Regions from separate parts of the Homo sapiens genome. Here region 1 is linked to region 2. The links are contacts of gene promoters, found by promoter capture Hi-C in blood cells and fetal thymus (Javierre and others, 2016). All regions are on one chromosome and are shown on one strand. Each heading gives the region's core, a stretch centred on a gene start or on the middle of the fragment in contact. The rest is flanking DNA. Distances are from core to core; before and after follow the strand shown.

Region 1 (6,280 bases), core at 3,781-6,280, 290 kb after region 2:
TATCCAAGTGAGGAGGGAGGGGGTACAGGGAGCGTCCGTCTGGCCACGGATGTAGGGGCAGCTGCACATCTCAGTCTGGTCCTGACAGCTGGAGCCAAGGGGTTGTCTGCAGGAGGGAGGGTGGAGTGAGCGACTGCTCAGGAACCCCTCCCATCCCTGTTCCGGGCTCTCTGCCTGCGGGGGCAGAGGCAGGGAGCCCCATCCGCCTGCCCTTGCCGCTCACATGGACTCACACACTTGCTCCTTCATCCCTGCATGCCCCCATTTGCTGAGTGTGTGCATGCGTGTGTACCTTTAACGCCCTGAAATCCAAGGGTAGAGGCCAGGGAATGCGAGCCAGGGAGAGGCAGAAAGGGGGAGACGAAGACATGCAGAAGGGGAAAGGCAGAAGCACAGGGACAAAGAAAGAGACCTGGGAGACAGAGACACAGAGACAAAGAGTGAGAGAGAGGGAGACAGGCAGACACAGTGAAGACAGAAGGAGGCCGGGCATCGTGGTCCTCATCTCAGACCCTCACCCCAGCATTTTGGCTGCAGGCAGGAGGATCACTTGAGCCCAGGAGTTTGACACCAGCCTGGGTAACATAGGAAGACCCCGTCTCTGGTACCTGTAGTCCCAGTTCCTTGGGAGGCTGAGGTGGGAGGATTGCTTGAGCCCAGGAGGTGGAGGCTGCAGTGAGCTGTGATTGCACCACTGCTCTCCAGCCTGAACAACAGAGTGATGGGGGTGGCTCTGCCCGGCTACTCATGGTGGTCTCGGAGGTTGTGGGGGTACCAGAGCCAGAACCTGTGGGTCCCTCTGCTAAAATTCAGGTTCTCTGTCTTTCATGCGCTGGAAGCTGCTCACTCTCCCCAGTAAACAAGAGTCCTGGGTTTGAACAGGCCCATTTTCCTCTAAGTGGGGCCTACGTTCGAGTCAGTGTGGTCTGAGTCTTTGGTGGAGGCTCCAAGAGTGGAGGCCTGTGCAGCTGTGTTAGACGTTTAAGCTACGTAAAGGATTCTCCTCTCCTCCCCTCCCCTCCCCTCCCCCCTTCCCCCCTCCCCTCCCCCCTTGCCCGTCCCCTCCCCCTTCCCCCTTCCCCCTCCCCTCCCTTCCCCCCTTCCCTCCCTGCTTCCCCCTCCCCTCCCCCTTCCCCCCTCCTCCCCTCCCCTCCCCTCCTCTCCTCTCCTTTTCTTTTTTTGAGATGGAGTCTTGCTCTGTTGCCCAAGCTGGAGTGCAGTGGCACGATCTTGGTTCACTGCAACCTCCGCCTCCCAGATTCAAGTGATTCTCCTGCCTCAGCCTCCCTAGTAGCTGGGATTACAGGCGTCCGCCACCATGCCTGGCTAATTTTTGTATTTTTAGTAGAGACAGGGTTTCACCATGGTTGCCAGGTTGGTCTCGAACTCCTGACCTCAGGTGATCCACCCGCCTCGGCCTCCCAAAGTGCTGGGATTACAGGCATGAGCCACCATGCCCAACCTCATAAAGGATGTTCTTTTCTTTCTTTTTTTGAGACGGGTTCTCACTCTGTCACTCAGGCTGGAGTGCAGTGGCGTGATCTTGGCTCACTGCAGCCTTTGCCTCCCAGGTTCAAGCAAGCAATTCTCCCACCTCGGCCTCCCAAAGTGCTGGGATTACAGGCATGAGCCACTGTGCTCAGCCAGGATTTCCAAAGGTAACAGTAACTACAGGTGCTTATGTTTGCATTCTATGCCAAGCTTCATGTTAGCTTACGCTTCACCCGTGCAAGCAGATGTTCATGCTTTCTTACCCCAGTTCCTTCACTGAATCACGGCACGTAGCATATGATTGGGGTGACTATTTCCCCAAATCTCACAAAGAATAATATATAACTGGTAGCATTCTGGATGCATAGGAGAAAAGTTAATTCCAGCCGGGCACGGTGGTTCACGCCTGTAATCCCAGCACTTTGGGTGGCCGAGGTGGGCGGATCACCCGAGATCGGGAGTTTGAGACCAGCCTGACCAACATGGAGAAACCCCGTCTCTACTAAAAATACAAAATTAGCCAGGTGTGGGGGTGCATGCCTGTAATCCCAGCTACTCGGGAAGCTGAGGCAAGAGAATTGCTTGAACGCGGGAGGCAGAGGTTGCAGTGAGCCGAGATTGCGCCACTGCACTCCAGCCTGGACAACAAGAGTGTAACTCCATCTCAAAAAAAAAAAAAAAAAAAAAAAAAGTTAATTATTTACCTACATAGAACGTCCTAGGATAATAGGGTTTAATTCTTTTACCAAAACCCTATTTGAGAGATGAATTCAGTCACCCAACCATCCATGTGCCATTAAATGCATTCATCCACTCATCTGTGTACTTATCATTCAGCCCCAACCATCTATTCAACTACCCATTCACCCATCTACCTATCTATCCAGAGAGCGCACAGAGGCTGGGCAAACTCTGACTGTCCTATGGATAGTCCTATGGACCAGCCGAGGCCCCTGCCCCAAGGAGTTCCCAGGTGTAACCGCAAGTTAAGGTGCCCTGGGGAGGTGACACAGGCACCCTCATTTCTTTTGTTCAGTAGGAGTCTCTGAGGCCTCCCCAGTACCATGCTGCATGGGTGAGGCCGAGGACACAGAGAAGTATCAGGAAAAGCTCTTGCCCCTTTATCAGGCAGGGCTCCCTCTCCAACCATATCCATTCATGGTTCATTGCCCAATTCACCACCTACCCATATCTACCCATTAAACAACCCATCCATCCGTCAATCCAACCACATCCCTGCATCAACCAACCCATGTATTCACCCATCCACCCACCCACCCATCTGTCCATTCACCCGTCCATCCACCCATCCATCTACCCATCCACCTATCCAACCACCCACCCATCTATGCATTCACCCATCCATCCATCAAACAACTCATCCATCCACGCACCCATCGATCTACCCATCCACCCACCCACCCATCTATCAATCTATCATCCATTCACCCATGCATCCATCAACCAACTCATCCATCCATCCACCCATCCATCTACCCATCCACCCATCCAGCCATCCGTTCTTCCATCCATCCTTCCACTTCCCTACCCAACCATCAACCTTTCCTGATTTCACACTTTTTGCTGGGCAATGCTAGGAACAAGGACGCTAGGGACCTAGGTCTTACCCTCAAGGCACTCCCTGTCAGGTGGGAGAGACAGTAACAACATAGACACAGCACATGGCCATATAAGCAGCAAGAGGGGTCGCTCAGACAATATGAAGACCCAGAGAAGACCCAGAGAAATTAAGTTAAATCTTAAACATGTGAGAAGTTTTCTGGGTGGAGTGGAGACAGCCAAGGGCACTCCTGGTGTAGAGAAGAGCAGGAACAGGGACCAACTGGCTATCTGTGGACTAAGAGACACCATTAGTGCAGAGAGGCAGGAGAAATGGGGCCAAAATATGGGGGGTCCACAGGCCAGTGAGTGCTTCAGTTTAACCAAAGGTGAAGAGGGAGCCACAGCAGGTCTTTGAGCAGAGGCAGGCTAGCTGGAAAGGTGTGTTTAGGAAAGAGATAGAAGGTAGAGGGGAAAGGGGAGTGAATGTGTGGTGGCTTCATTTCTCCTGCTGTTGGTCCTTCTTACTCCTCCTTTTCTAGGCCTACAGGTCAGGAAAATCCCAGCTCCTCCTTTCCTAGGCCTACAGGTCAGGAGAATCCCAGCTCCTCTTTTCCTAGGCCTACAGGTCAGGAGAATCCCAGCTCCTCCACCTACGTGTTGTGTGGCCTTGGGCAAATGTGGCGCCTTTCTGCGCTTCAGTTTCCTCCACTGCAGAATGGGGATGGTAATAGTAGTGACCTTGGAGACCAGTTACATGGAGAGGATTAAATGGGGCCTGGTCTGGGCTCAGTGGCTCACGCCTGTAATCCCAGCACTTTGGGAGGCTGAGGAGAGCAAATCGCATGAGCTCAGGAGGTGGGGACCAACCTGGCCCACATGGCAAAACCCCGTCTCTACTAAATATACAAAAATTAGCCCGGCAAGGTGGGGCGCACATGTATTCTCAGCTACTTGGGAGGCTCAGGTGGGAGGACTGCTTGAGCCTAGGAGGTCGAGGCTGCTGTGAGCTGAGATCACGCCACTGCACTCCAGCCTGGGTGACAGTGAGAGATCCTGTCTCAAAACAACCCCAAACGACAACAAAACAAAACAAAACAAAAAATGGGGCCTGGTGTACCTGGAAGCTGGGGCTCTCCCCGTGCGGGGGGCCTAACTGTGTGACTCGACCCCCACACTTCCCATCTCCAGGGGCAGGGTCTCACAGCCTCCCCCACGTATGCACCTGTGCTTGCTGTGTCTGCGGTTCTCCGCCAGAGCCTTCCCGTCCCTGTCTCCACCCCGCCCTGGGACTCTACCTCCCCATGGCCGCTCTCTGTCTCCATCTGTCCATCGCTCCCCCGTCTGTCTCCATTCCCGTCCCTCCCTCGGTCCCTCCGTCTCCCCGCCCTGCCCCGCCCGCCCCTCACCTGGGCCTCACTCGCTGCCCGCGCCCGCCGCCCCGGGCCCGGCCTCGAGCGTGGCGAGCTGCAGGCGCACGCGGCGGGAGCCGGCGGCGGGCGGCGGGGGCGCGCGGGCGGCTCGGCGCGCTCTCCGGGAGCCGGGCGCGGGGCGCTGGCCCGCGGCGGCGGGCGCCGACCAGCGGCGGGAGAGCTTGCGCGCCAGGCGGGCGAGCGCCGAGGGCCGCAGGCCGTAGTCGCGCTCCAGCTCCTGGCGCGAGATCTCGATGTTGCCGGTGTACCAGAGGATCCAGCCCAGCAGGCTCAGGAACACCAGCAGCGCGCCCGAGTAGATGAGCAGGTCCCCGAAGTCGCGGCCGCGCACCTGCAGCTGCGCGAACACGCCGGTCAGCAGCGCCGCCATGCCCGCCACATCCAGCGCCACGGCCAGCAGCAGCGCCATCCGGCAGCGGCCCAGGCCGGCCGCGGGTGCTGGCGCGGCCGCCGGCGCGGACGGTGCACCCGGCGGGCTCCCCTGCGAGGCGCACACCGCTGGCGCCGCCGCCATGGCCCTGCACCGCCGCCGCTGGCGCCCAGAGAGAGCGTTCCGGGGTGCGGCCCGGTCCGGGGCGGGGTCAGGGGACGGCGCCAGGTGTGCCAAGCTCCCGCCTGGTCACCTGAACCGGGCTGGGCGCGAACCGGCGCGGCCGGGGTTACCCTGGTCGTGGTTTCCGTGCAGGGGCTATTGCTCAGAGGCCTGAGCTGGTGGTAGCCAGGCGCACAGCCACGGGTGCCTAGGGCCCGTGCCACCCAGGGAGGTCACATATGGCCAAAAATCAGGGCATTTTAGTGGTGGCAGCATGGGACACTCGGAGCCGGGCGTGGCGTTGTTTCTGCTCAGTGTCCGCCTCCCGAAGCCTGTGCAGATCAGACAGTGCAGATCAGACAAGGCCTTTAGACACCAAGGAGCTCTGGGACGCGAGAACCAGTAGTCGGGGTGATCTAAGAGGGGAAGCTCCGGGTTCCGCGGAAGCTGAGTTTCCTTCACTCAGCGCGTGTCTTCTGGGGTCTCCTGTGTTCAGCGAATGAAGCCACGGGCACAAGGACGGACGAGACCCATCAGGTCCAGAGCGCACCCGTGGAGGAAGCTGGGCGAACCCCGACTGTCCTATGGAGGATAGTCCTATGGACCAGACGAAGCCCCTGCCCCAAGGAGTGCCCGGGTGTAACCGCAAGTTAAGGAGCCCTGGGGAGGTGACACAGGCACCCTCATTCCTTTTGTTCAGTAGGAGTCTCTGAGGCCTCCCCAGCACCATGCCGCGTGGGTGAGGCCGAGGACACAGAGAAATATCAGGCAAGGCTCCTGCCCCCTTAGGGTGGCCCTGACAACGGATCATAACCTCCCAGGGAGCTGATGGGGTGTGACAGGCACACCATAGGCTGGAGGCACAGGTGGAGGGCAGGGAAGAGGACCGGCAAATCTATAGAATCCTAAAGGGAGCCAAGAGAAGCCACATGCAAATCTCCCTCCCTCCAAACAATTCTCCCTTAGAGGGCATCCGCGCTCCCCTGGGGTGGCAGTCAGCGAGAAGTTTCCGTGTAGGTTCTCCCCAGGCTTAAACAGTTTAAGAGTTTTATTTCAAGAAAACCCTGGGGAGGGCGAACTGCAAGAGGGCTGCCAGGATTAGCCGAGGGATTCCGAATGAAGACGGAGTATTTCCGAACATACACACCTCTCCCAAGAGCGTTTCCGGAGGGTTCCGAAAATACCCGAGCGGGCCTCGGCGCCCTCATTGGCCATCACCGCGAGGGCTTACGAAGACCGGAAATATCCAAAGGTGCCGGGGCTA
Region 2 (6,376 bases), core at 2,630-5,129:
CCGCCCCCCGCCCTTGGGGCAGGCAGGAGTTCTCAGTCCCCACTTTGCCACCTCCTGCCTGGTTCCTTCTGGTTCCTTCCTTCCTCTTTGGATCTCCAAGAGTCCTTCTCCTATCTGCCCCGTCCCTAGATCCTATTCACATACTTCCCTTGGCTCCCTATGGCTCACCGGATAAAACCAGGCCCCAGCTTGGCAGTCACAGGTTGCCCACTCGGCTCACCAGCTTCTCCGACCACGGGGCTCAGCTTCCCTCCTCCTGCTGCCAAGCTTGGTTCATGTGGTTGCTTCTGCCCAGAATACTCTCAGCCCCTCTACCACTTGCCCGGGGCCCCACCCCTCATTCTTAGTAGGGGAATAGGAAAGGTAGGCAATTCCCCCAAACCTCTTTGCTCCATTCCCGCACCCGCCCCCCGCCCCCCAATAAGCCCCCGTGGCTCTCGCCACCTAGGCTGCAAACTGAAATGCCTGCAGGAACCCGACAAGAGACCCAAGTGAGCCAGCCGGGCCTCAGCCCTACCCCCGTCACAGGCCAGCTTGTTTGAACATCCTGGCAGCTGTATCTTCCAATATTCTCAGAACCTGACCATCTCTCACCATCTTCACTCCCATCACCCCAGCCAGAGCCACCCTCTCTCTTGCTTGGATTTCACCAGTAGACCCTTAGCTGGTCCCCCCAATCCTCACCACCAACCCCCAGCCTGTTCTCCATGCCAGAGGGACCTGTTAAAACCTAAGTCAGGCCATGGCCATGCTCCAAAAGACACCCAGAGCTCCAATCTCACAGCTCAAGCCCTTCCCAGGGCCAAGTCTCCACACAGCCACCGTGACCTCTCTAGCTTCATTCCCTGCTTTCTCCAGCTCCTCAGCTTCCTGCAGCACACCAGGTGCCCTACCCCAGGGCCTCCACACACACAGCTCCCATCATCCCTCAAATACCTACACAGCTCCCTCCCCAGGGTCTCCACACACAGAGCTCCCATCATCCAGAGCACCCTTCCCTCAAATACCTACACAGCTCCCTCTCCACCACCTTCAACCATCTGCCTGCACCAGCTTTTCCCTGAGGCCTGCCTAGACCACTCTATTCAAAACACATGTGCACACACGTGCACCCACCTTCCCAACCCCTTTCTTTTCTCCAGAGCGCCGCCACCTTGAAATACATTTATTTTAACATCGGATGCCCCCCTCCTAAAAGTATTGGATCTTTGTTTTGTTCAGTAATGATCAGTCACACTGTACTCACTCAGTCCTGTTCTTCCTGTTGGTGTTATACTAATTGTTGAATGAATGCCTCATCTCAGAAGATGGCTCCTACTCAGCTCTAGTCAACGGTGGCTATGCAGGACTGAAAAGTTCATATTGTCACAGATTCCTGTTCTTTCAAAAGAAGGCAAAATTCTTTTTGTTTTTTGTTTGTTTGTTTGTTTTTGAGATGGAGTCTCGCTCTGCTGCCCAGGCTGGAGTGCAGTGACTCGATCTTGGCTCACTGCAACCTCTGCCTCCCAGGTTCAAGCGATTCTCCTGCCTCAGCCTCCCAAGTAGAGTAGATGCGATTACAGGCACCTACCACCACGCCTGCTAATTTTTGCATTTTTAGTAAAGAAGGGGTTTCACCATGTTGGCCAGGCTGGTCTCGAACTCCTGACCTCAAATGATCTGCCCGCCTCGGCCTCCCAAAGTGCTGGGATTACAGGCGTGAGCCACCACACCCGGCCAAAATTCCAGATTTTTACACACAAATTTCTCCAAATGTTAAATGTTGGCAATTGACTAAATTTGTTTCAAAGACACTGATGGCAAAACCCAAACTCCCCAGCTCCACATCCTTGGCCCCAGAGGTCTTGCCCGCTGATCCCTCCTGCCCCATCAGCTTCCCCTCAGCCCCCCGCCTGCGATCACGCGGGCTCCGTCTTGGAGCCTTCGCTCCCGCTGGGGGCTCATCCTGAAGCTCCTTCACCACACAGGTGAGTAAGCACCAGCCCATCCCCCGGCACCCACCCAAGTGGCCCAGTGGTTTGGTCATGGACACGCACGGCCCCCCAGCAGGAGCAGGAAACAGTGCCCTCCCTCTGGCTGGGAACACAGAGCTTGAGTGGCAACTTCACGACTTTTATTTGTGGTGCCTGTGCTTTATCTCGAAAATACCTTCTCCCCCTGCCCCAGACAGTGGGCGGGGAGGGGGCAGCAAAAAATAGAAGACGTCCCTCCCTATTGCACATGGACCCTATATACAGGCCCACCTGGCTGAGGCTGGCGGGACTCTTGGCACATTCTTGGATCCCTGCTCAGGAGGGGAGGGGTGACGGGGTGGCATCACACGTGAGATGGGGACCTCCAGGCGGCCACTCTGGTCCTGGCTACTGATCCTTGCACTTCTTGGTCCTCAGTTCCTTCCTGGTCCCGTCTCTGGCCCTGGTCCCCTCTGGCAACGTCCCCCTGCTTGGCTCGGCCTCCCACCTCCATCCTGGCCTCGGGTGGCCCCCTCGGCTCCTGGGGACTCTGCTCCCCTCCCAGTCCGGAGGTCCCAGGGGGGCTATGGCTTCTCTGAGACTTCCCCCGGAGCCCTGTCACTCGTGTTCACACGGGGGAAGGGGTGCGTGTGGCAGAAGCAGCTGTATAAATACGGGTGCGGGAAAGTCCCTCCGGGTCACTTGGAGAGTTTGCTGATGACGCGGATCAACGCTGCATTCTCATCCTTGAGGCGCTGGTTGTCAGCGCGGAGGTCAGACAGGGCCTGGGGGACGGCAAGGGTCAGCTGGGCAGCCCTGGCGGGTTGCACCCCCACCCACCCTCGGCCCTCTGCCCACAGCCCCCACAGCCCCCACCTTCAGCTCCTCCTCCAGCTCTGCGGCCTTGCGTTCCAGGGCCCTGCGCTCCTGGAATGAACAGGGAAAGTGCAGAAACTGAGTGAGGCTGAGGAGGGCAGGGGAAGGCCAGGGGCCAGCTGGGAAGGGCAATGTGGCTCCCTTGGTCCAAACTTAGGGATGTGAGGCTGGGGACGCCTCTGGCCCCCATCCCCACTGCCCCTACTCACGAATCTCTCCAGTTCCAGGAGGGCTGGCCTCTCAGCGAAGCGTTCTTGCCTCTGGTGAGGACACAGAAAGCACAGGGGTCAGCAGAAGAAGCCAGCACTGCTCTGAAGGGTCCTAGGCTCCTGCTGGGCACCCGCCCGCCCACTAGGCAGCCCACAAGCCCTTCCCCCACGGGCCAGGCCCCGCCACCGGCAGGCCCACAGCCCCATCCCCTCGCTCAGACTCCGCCTCCGAGATCTCGGCCCCGCCCCTCAAGTGAAGCCCAGCCCCGCCGGCACCCCCAGGCCAGGCTCTACCTCCCAGCAGTCTAAGCCCCACCCAGGCGGCCCTGCCAGTTCCCGTGACCCTGGCCTCGGCGCCCTTACCTGCGTGGCCCGCTCCAGCTCCACCTTGAGCTGCGCCAGCCGCAGCGTGGTCTCGGTCAGGGCCTCGCGAAGCCGCTCGTTCTCCCTGCGCAGCTCTGCATACAGCTGGGGGTCAGGTAGAGGAGGGTCAGGTGGAGGATGGGGCGATGCTGGGGGGGCGGGGAAGCCAGGAAGCTGGGCACCCAGCAGGCAAAGCCCCGACGGAGGGGTGGGATCGCACCGTCCTAAAGCCTCCGTCTGGCTCTTCCGATTCTGGCTCAGGTTCTGGGTTGAGGTCCCGCTGCCACCGCTGCCTGCGGGCCGAGGGGCCGCCCTCCAGGGTGCTGGGGCAGGGGAGGAGCGCGCGTCAGGGGCCGGCCCGGCCCGCACGCAGACCCCACCTCTCCCACCCCGCCCCTACCTGGACTCCTGGCTGCGGTCAGCCGGCTCCGCCTCCTCCCCCTGTGGGCAGGTAGACGGGGGTTCAATGGGTATGGGAGGGACTTTAGCGGGTATGGGAAGGGCTTTGCCCGCCCCCCGGCCCACCCTCTGCACCAGCTCGGCCCCACCTGAGCCCCTCACCTCCGCAGGCCCCCTCCACTCCTTTCCGACCTTGCGGTGCTCCCTGGCCGCCTGCGGTCCCGGACCCTGCCCGTCGGGCGCCTCTGCTGGGGGAGGGGCAGGAATCAGCCCAGGCACCTCCAGAGCCCCCTCTCGGTGCCTGGGTCCCCGGGTCAAGCCCCCAGGAAAGCAAGAAGACTATGGGAGAAACTGGATGATTCCCTGGGAATGACCTCCCCGAGAGCAGACCTCACCTCTCTGGGCAGGGCTGTCAGAGTTCTCCACTCCAGGGACGCGGGGCCTTCGGGAAGGGTCCTGTCGGGAGGGGGAGGCGAGTCAGGGAAGCAGGACATCCCGCACCACCCCACTCGCCCTCGCTGACCCCTCTCACCAGGCTCTGCGCCGGCTTCTCTGACTCTGGGGCCTTCCCTGCAGCCTTCTCTGCCTCCTTCAGGTCTGTAAGAGTCACACCCTGGCAGGGAAAGGGGACAGTCAGGGGACGCTGGGGTCAGGGCCCAGCCCCTCCTCCCTCAGACCCAGGAGCCCAGGCCCCAGCCCCTCCTCCCTCAGACCCAGGAGCCCAGACCCCAGCCCCTCCTCCCTCAGACCCAGGAGTCCAGACCTCCAGCCCCTCCTCCCTCAGACCCAGGAGTCCAGGCCCCAGCCCCTCCTCCCTCAGACCCAGGAGTCCAGACCTCCAGCCCCTCCTCCCTCAGACCCAGGAGTCCAGGCCCCAGCCCCTCCTCCCTCAGACCCAGGAGTCCAGACCTCCAGCCCCTCCTCCCTCAGACCCAGGAGCCCAGGCCCCAGCCCCTCCTCCCTCAGACCCAGGAGTCCAGACCTCCAGCCCCTCCTCCCTCAGACCCAGGAGCCCAGACCCCAGCCCCTCCTCCCTCAGACCCAGGAGCCCAGGCCCCAGCCCCTCCTCCCTCAGACCCAGGAGCCCAGACCCCAGCCCCTCCTCCCTCAGACCCAGGAGCCCAGGCCCCAGCCCCTCCTCCCTCAGACCCAGGAGCCCAGACCCCAGCCCCTCCTCCCTCAGACCCAGGAGTCCAGGCCCCAGCCCCTCCTCCCTCAGACCCAGGAGTCCAGACCTCCAGCCCCTCCTCCCTCAGACCCAGGAGCCCAGACCCCAGCCCCTCCTCCCTCAGACCCAGGAGTCCAGGCCCCAGCCCCTCCTCCCTCAGACCCAGGAGCCCAGGCCCCAGCCCCTCCTCCCTCAGACCCAGGAGTCCAGGCCCCAGCCCCTCCTCCCTCAGACCCAGGAGTCCAGACCTCCAGCCCCTCCTCCCTCAGACCCAGGAGTCCAGGCCCCAGCCCCTCCTCCCTCAGACCCAGGAGCCCAGGCCCCAGCCCCTCCTCCCTCAGACCCAGGAGTCCAGGCCCCAGCCCCTCCTCCCTCAGACCCAGGAGTCCAGACCTCCAGCCCCTCCTCCCTCAGACCCAGGAGTCCAGGCCCCAGCCCCTCCTCCCTCAGACCCAGGAATCCAGGCCCCCAGCCCCTCCTCCCTCAGACCCAGGAGTCCAGGCCCCAGCCCCTCCTCCCTCAGACCCAGGAGTCCAGACCCCAGCCCACCCCACACCTGTGTGGACCTCCGAGACTGGCGCATGAGACGGGAGCGAGCTTTTCTCTGGGATTCCGACTCCTCATCCCGCACAGGCATCTGGTAGGACCTGAGGGAAGGGTCCCAACCTCAGACAGGGAACCTGGGGACCCTGTCCCATTCCGTGGCTGACACCCTCCGCGGGAAGCAAGTTCTGTGGGAGGGGACTCCAACTCCCAGCAGACCTGAGGCCAGCTCTCCCTCAGGAGCCCACCCAAAGCCCCGGGACTCCTGCTTCACATCGTCTCTCCCTGCTGGGGGCGGGGGCGGCAGCTTCCTGCCCTGGCCTCTTCACCTCCGTCGGTCCCGGGAGTCCGCTGGGGGCGCCGTGGAGGCTGTGGGGACGTTTGGCTTCGCTGGGGATTCAGGCTCCGGAATCCTGGAGGGAGGCGAGGAGTTCTCCAAGCAAGGAGGAGGCTTGGTGACCTCAGACCTGCATCAATTCATTCATTCCACAAACATTACCCAGGTGCATTGTGTGCCGGCACTGGAGATGCAGCCGTGAGTGAAAGAAACAAATTATCTGGGCCACAACAGAGTCAGAGCTGAGCAGAAATACACAAAACCCACAAAAGCCATGAAAAGACCAGCACACTACGCAACCGGTCAGAAGGATAAAGGACTCTGGACAGAAGCAGCAGTGCGAGAACTGAGAGCGGGAGGGTGTGCGTGTGCGGACGGCGCCGTGGTGGCAGCAGGGTGGTCAGTGTGCACCTCGGGGTGGGGGGAAGATAGGGGAGAAGGTGACGTTTCAACACAGACCTGAGGGAGGGAGAGAGCCCCCAAGAGGAACACAGCACAGGCTCTGGAGTGGCGGCAGGAACCAGACCCC

The links. Contacts are between HindIII fragments. The CHiCAGO score rates a contact against its expected background, and 5 or more counts as called.
Region 1: a contact is called between the fragment with the promoter of TMEM238 here and a fragment that was not itself captured in region 2, in 6 of 17 cell types (naive CD4 T cells, non-activated CD4 T cells, total CD8 T cells and 3 more). The highest score is 6.9, in naive CD4 T cells.

The regions. Positions count from the first base shown.
Region 1 is chr19:55,379,262-55,385,541 of GRCh38, forward strand. TMEM238 (transmembrane protein 238) reads right to left here and starts at 5,031. Exons shown (of 2, transcript NM_001190764.2): 1 at 4,461-5,031; 2 at 1-106. The coding sequence starts at 4,998. The coding sequence ends at 4,468. RefSeq lists enhancers at 34-534, 4,631-5,593, 5,547-5,616, 5,647-5,716 and silencers at 4,537-4,626, 4,917-5,256. The HindIII fragment of the contact is 6,498 bases long and covers 1,700-6,280 here.
Region 2 is chr19:55,088,822-55,095,197 of GRCh38, forward strand. It overlaps PPP1R12C (protein phosphatase 1 regulatory subunit 12C), which reads right to left. Exons shown (of 22, transcript NM_017607.4): 12 at 5,840-5,977; 13 at 5,524-5,614; 14 at 4,332-4,412; 15 at 4,195-4,255; 16 at 3,962-4,047; 17 at 3,801-3,841; 18 at 3,621-3,723; 19 at 3,401-3,505; 20 at 3,038-3,088; 21 at 2,829-2,879; 22 at 2,097-2,737. The coding sequence ends at 2,651. Among named protein-coding and RNA genes, the nearest start is that of EPS8L1, 16 kb to the left of the region's middle. RefSeq lists an enhancer at 1-74. The HindIII fragment of the contact is 7,228 bases long and covers 266-6,376 here.